Linked DNA regions of Homo sapiens: region 1 is linked to region 2. The links are contacts of gene promoters, found by promoter capture Hi-C in human tissues and cell types (Jung and others, 2019). All regions are on one chromosome and are shown on one strand. The core of a region is centred on a gene start or on the middle of the fragment in contact, and the rest is flanking DNA. Distances in the headings are between cores, read along the strand shown. Region 1 holds the start of EGFL7 (EGF like domain multiple 7). Region 2 overlaps CCDC183 (coiled-coil domain containing 183).

What was found. The method cuts DNA at HindIII sites, captures the fragments that hold promoters and counts their contacts. A contact is called where the count stands out against the background at its distance.
Region 1: the fragment with the promoter of EGFL7 here is called in contact with a fragment that was not itself captured in region 2 in 2 of the 25 tissues and cell types used here (lymphoblastoid cells and mesenchymal stem cells).

Annotation. Positions count from the first base shown.
Region 1 is chr9:136,661,555-136,664,254 of GRCh38, reverse strand. It overlaps EGFL7 (EGF like domain multiple 7), which reads right to left and starts at 1,339. Exons shown (of 11, transcript NM_016215.5): 1 at 1,147-1,339; 2 at 632-847. The HindIII fragment of the contact is 17,984 bases long and covers 1-2,700 here.
Region 2 is chr9:136,802,209-136,804,908 of GRCh38, reverse strand. CCDC183 (coiled-coil domain containing 183) reads right to left here. Exons shown (of 14, transcript NM_001039374.5): 6 at 2,123-2,245; 7 at 282-407; 8 at 93-147. CCDC183-AS1 (CCDC183 antisense RNA 1) reads left to right here. Exons shown (of 5, transcript NR_024580.1): 5 at 1-982. Among named protein-coding and RNA genes, the nearest start is that of RABL6, 4.4 kb to the left of the region's middle. The HindIII fragment of the contact is 7,702 bases long and covers 1-2,700 here.

The DNA of each region.
Region 1 (2,700 bases), core at 90-2,589, 140 kb after region 2:
AATCCAGTGGCCACTGCTCTGGACCAGGGGCCCTGGAAGCCCCTGGCACGTGGTCCAAGGGACGACCAGAGCAGCTGCTGTCAGGGGGCGTTCCTCATCTGACTGGGGAGTCCTAGGCCTCCTGGCGCCCTGAGCCCACGCAGGGCAGCTCTTACCTAGCCCCCAGCAGTGAAGTGTTCAGAGTGGGGCCTAGGGGGCCTCTGGGTGGGAGAGCCACCGCCACCCTCCCTGTCCCCTGCCCCTGGCCTCATCTCTGGATCTGCGGTCACTTAACCCTTTGACCTGCCTCCCCACCTCTCCTGCCTGAGTCTGGAAGAGGCGATGGAGCAGAAAGGGCAGCTCCAGGGCTGCCCCGACTCAGCCCTCGCTGCCCCCATCCTGGCTAGGCACCATTTGGAAAGTGGGGGTTCTCAGACAGGCTTCTTGGTGTGGACGTATGAGACAAAAAGTGGGGCCTTCTAGGACCCACTGTGGTTTTGGGGGCTTTGGGATGGGGCTTCAGCCACTCTGCATGAGGCTGGGGAGAGGGAGAACAAGGGCGTCTCCAGGGTCCAAGGGGGGCCCACAGAGTCACCCATTTGCCCACCGCACCCAGCAAGTCATCCCTAAGCCCGAGCCCCACGTCCCGCACCCTGGATTCACACTGCTCATCCTGGCTACAGATGTGGCTTTGGGGTTCCTCTCCCTCGGGGCCAGTTCCCCTCCCCGGGCCCCCGTTGGGTTGCTCATCCACTGCTAGGGAGAAGATGAGGAGACCTCAGCCCTCGGGACACCGCAGGGCGTAGCGCGAAGCCCCTCACAGCGGGCCCAGCCAAGCTGAACTTTGCTGCCAACCACAGGGGCTGCTCTGCGGAGGGAGAGAAAGGCCAGAGGGTGGGGTTCAGGGGAAGGGCGACTGGGGGTGAAGTGTTGGAGTCAGCAGACTGGATTGGGATCTACGCTGGGCCACCCACTAGCAGGCGTTTGGCCAAGGGGCCTCAGTGGCCTCCTCTGTGCAGAAGGGGAGGAGACTGGGACCCCTCCCCTGTGACCTCGCTGGGGAGCAGATTGCGGAGCAGCCAGCAGGCGCCACGGTCAGCGGGAGTGAGGGGAATGGGGGGCCCGCCCTGTCCGCTCCCTGCCCCTCCGAGGCCACCCCTGCCATACCTGATGCTGCTGGAGCCCAGGCGTGGCCATGGTGGCCGCTGCTGTGTCCTGGGACTGGAGATGGACCCTAGCCCTTGCTGGGGCCTCAGGCCCACTGGCCGCCTGGAGGCACCTCCTGAGGCCCACCTGCCTGGCCTGTCCACAGGAGCCTCCCTTGCAGCCGTGCAGGGCCAGCTTGGTGCAGGGAGGCTCCCCCCGGGCGAGGAAGGGCGGCTTTTTATGCTCCGTCCTGGGTAATCGGGATTGGGATGGGCCCTTCCCAGCCGGACTTCCTGTGTGTGTTCTCCGCTGATAACGGGGACGTGTCGTCGGACAAACAGGAGGCTGAGGGGGGTGGGGGCCACCGTGTGAGGGGGCCTGGACAAACTGCCCAGGGGTGGGGAAGCCGTCCCCTGGGCCATCAGAGTCTAGCCCCAAAACAGCCAGAAACCAGGGCTGGACCCTGCTGGAGACCCTGGGGAGAGTGTGGGGTGGAGGACGCAAGCCCAGGGCCCTCCCAGGACCGTGGGTTCACAGGCCATGCTCACGTGTGGCTGGACAGAAGGGAGCTGCTGCATCTTTGGGCCAAGGATGCTGGGCCCTCCCCCAGGACACCCCCAGATGTGTGTGACACAGCACGGGAGCTTGGAGGGGCCCCAGGCCAAGGCAGGGACCAGCCACACAGGAGCCTTGACCAGTGAGGGATGGCGAGTGGCGAGGCCCGGCAGGAAGGGACTGGGGTGGCAAGACAGGCTGAGCGGTCCGAGAACAGCCTGTTCCGTGGGTCCCTGAGGCCCATGGTGAGGGGGTGACGGGAGGGGACAAGCATGGAGTCCAAGCTCTCTCCCCTAAAAGAGCTGCCAGTGAGGCTGTGAGCCCCTGCCCTGGAGATGGGCAAGCAGGCCCAATGCCCTCAGCCCCACTTCACAGGGGTGCTCTGGGCTGGCAGCAGGCTGCGGCCGGGGGTGTGGGGAGGGATGCGGGACACTGTGGGTGATCACAGGGGGTGCTCTGTCAGATTCCCGGCGTCCCAGCCTCCAGGTCTGACCCTCATCTTCCCTGTTCACACGGCAGTGGGAGCCTCAGGCCGAGCGAGCCACTGTGGCAAAGGTGGGCTGGGTGGGAGGGGACACGGTGCCGAAGGGAGCTGGGTGGCTTTGGAGGGCACGCCTGGAACCCCAGGAGAGCAGGGCCTCTCCCAACCCCGCTGTCCGTGGGGTGTGAGCCCTGCTTTGGGGTCAGCCCCTGTCGGCCTGATGCCTGGGACACCCCCATTTCCCTGGCCCTGGGCGGTCAGTGTGCCCCCACCTCTCCAGCCCCACTCAGCTGGGCAACTTGAGCCAAGGGAGGCTGGGGCAGCTGGGGAAATTCCCCACGGGACTTTGGAGGGCAGGTGGAAACCTCACCCACACGCGATGCGCCTCCCCCTCAAGCAGGAACCAGCTCCCCTCTACCCACGGCCAGGGGAAGGGTCTGCTCTGGGCGCCAGGCTGTGGTCAGGGCTCAGGGCCTCAGCCAGGCAGGACCTCACTCTTCTCCGGGCCTGTTTCTGCACCTGCTTCATGGTCACTGAGC
Region 2 (2,700 bases), core at 122-2,621:
TGGCCTCAGGGTGACTTGATCCGTTGGCCTGAATCAGTGCCAGCCTCTCCTTGGGACCCTGGCTGGGGGCAGGTGGGGAGCTGAGCGCTTACATTTCAGGGTCTCCGTGCTCATCAGGTTCGAGGGGAAGTCCAAGTCCATCTGGCCCTGATGGGAGGTGGGGGCGGGGAAGGGATGAGACATCCTTGGCAGGGAGTGGGCCCTGAGTGGTGGCCCTGAGCCTGTGTCCACCCAGCTGTCATGGGGATGGGCAGCCAGCCAGGCCCTGGCCTGGGGCTTACCCGGCGGTACTTCTCGCTGGTCTCCTTCGTGTGGATCTTGTCGATCAGCTTCTTCTGCTGGTTGAGCCGGTTCTCCCTTGCCCGGCGCTCCTCGATGAAGGACGCCTCCCTTTGCCTCATGTTCCTCTGGGGACATGCGGGTGGGCACAGGGTTGGGGAGCTGTCTCAACAAGGCCCCTAATGGCAGTAAAGCCAGCGGGCGGTTGGCCATGCTCACCTTACTAGACTTTGGAACTGCATCCCCGGCCAATGGCCACACCCTTTTCCTAAACCACTTGTGCCCGTGGCCCCTCAGCTCACGGCCCTCCTTGCCCATGCCTCAGAGCATGTGCCAGCCCAGACGCTCTGCTGCCCTCCAGCCGCTGGCCCCCAGCTGCCTCCTGGCCAGGTCCACCTAGAACTCACGGAAGTGCATTCAGCCTGCCTGAAGACAGATTCATCCTCTTCCCCAAAACCTGGCCTCTTCCAGCGTGCCCTTGGGCAGCTAAAACCGTCATCTGCTAACCCCTGCTCACGCACCCCAGACACTGCTCTCACCCTCGCCACTCTCGTTGCCAGCGCTTAGTGGGGTTGCCTCTTGAGGAGTTCTCAGCTCCGTTGCTCCTGGCCACCCCTTCTCCACCCCGGGTATACCCAGGTGATCAGCGCTTCTGCCCTGGCACCTTCCAGTCCCTGCAGCCTGAGTACACCCTTTCTGAAGCACAGACCTGGTCACATCTTTCCTCCACCTCCTCCCAGGGCTCCAGGTCAGTCCTTGGGCCCCCAGCCCAGCCGCCTCCGTGGACTCCTGGGGCCTGTGCCTCTGCAGCCTCCACTGCCCTGGCCACACGCTGCTCCATGTATCACACCCCTCCCAGCCCAGGGCCTTTTCCCAAGTTGTACCTCCTCCTCCCTAGCCCTGGCCACACCTGACCTTTGCGGGTTCAATCCCTCAGCCCAGCTCAAGCACTGTCTTCCTGGAAAGCCATCTGCCACCCCACCTGTCTCTGCTGAGCTGGCTCAGGGGCTGTGTGGCATTTCTTCATGGACTACTGGATGAGTGCCACCCACTTCAGGAGGACAGGGTCTGCCTGTCCCGGTCCCTGCTGTATCCCCAGAGCCTTGCAGGGACCTTGGCACAGACTGGGTGAATAGGTGACCCCCGCCCTGGCCCGGCCAGTTCTCTCCCTCTCCTCTACTTCATGGCTCCTGTGCTGGATGGGACCTGCTCTGTCCAGTGGGTGAGCAGAGCAGGCTGGCCGGGCTGGCCACTGGATCCTTCTGGGGATTGTAGGCAGTGTGGGCATGGGGGTCTCCTGAGAGACCCTGGCCAGAAGACACAAGAGAGCCCGCCCTGGGGGGCCCCAGCCCTGGGCCCTGAGCTCACCTTGACCCCATCCGAAGATCCAAGAGGGCTGGCCCTGGGGGGCCCCCAGCCCTGGGCCCTGAGCTCACCTTGACCCCATCCGAAGATCCAAGAGGGCTGGCCCTGGGGGGCCCCAGCCCTGGGCCCTGAGCTCACCTTGACCCCATCCGAAGATCCAAGAGGGCTGGCCCTGGGGGGCCCCCGGCCCTGGGCCCTGAGCTCACCTTGACCCCATCCGAAGATCCAAGAGGGCTGGCCCTGGGGGGCCCCCAGCCCTGGGCCCTGAGCTCACCTTGACCCCATCCGAAGATCCAAGAGGGCTGGCCCTGGGGGGCCCCCGGCCCTGGGCCCTGAGCTCACCTTGACCCCATCCGAAGATCCAAGAGGGCTGGCCCTGGGGGGCCCCCAGCCCTGGGCCCTGAGCTCACCTTGACCCCATCCGAAGATCCAAGAGGGCTGGCCCTGGGGGGCCCCCAGCCCTGGGCCCTGAGCTCACCTTGACCTCATCCGTGATCATCATGGCATCTTGGGACATGATCTTCATATCCGACAGCTCTGAGCAGTAGTTGACCACGAGGTTCTGCAGCTTGTCCAGCTCAATGGGGTATCCTGCCAGCACCTGTGTTGAATGGGGTTCTCTTGTGGCCCCTACAGAGTGGGCTGCAGTTGCCCCGAGCTTTTATCCCCCGACTAAGAGCCCTGAGAACAGTGATAGGTTCTCCTCTGTGGCCCCAGCCACCTCCCCCACTCCCCGCTGGGCACAACGGTGATGAAAGGTGTTTCACAGGGAGTGGACAGTGCTGGCCTGGTGGACTCTTTCACCACCTAGGGTCCAACAACCCAGAGAGACTGAGAGAGTTTGTGATGAAATGCTCTGCAGAAAAGGCTGACTGAAACCCGGGGAGGTTTGGGGACAGTTCTGCTTTGAAGTGAAACAGAGGGGCTCAAGACATGGGCTTGGGGTCAGAGAGTCAGGATTCAAGGCCAAGGCAGCTTCTGACCAGCTAGTTTAGCTGTGTGACATTGGGAAAGTTACTTAATCTCTCTGTGTCCCCATTTGTAAGATGATGGCTC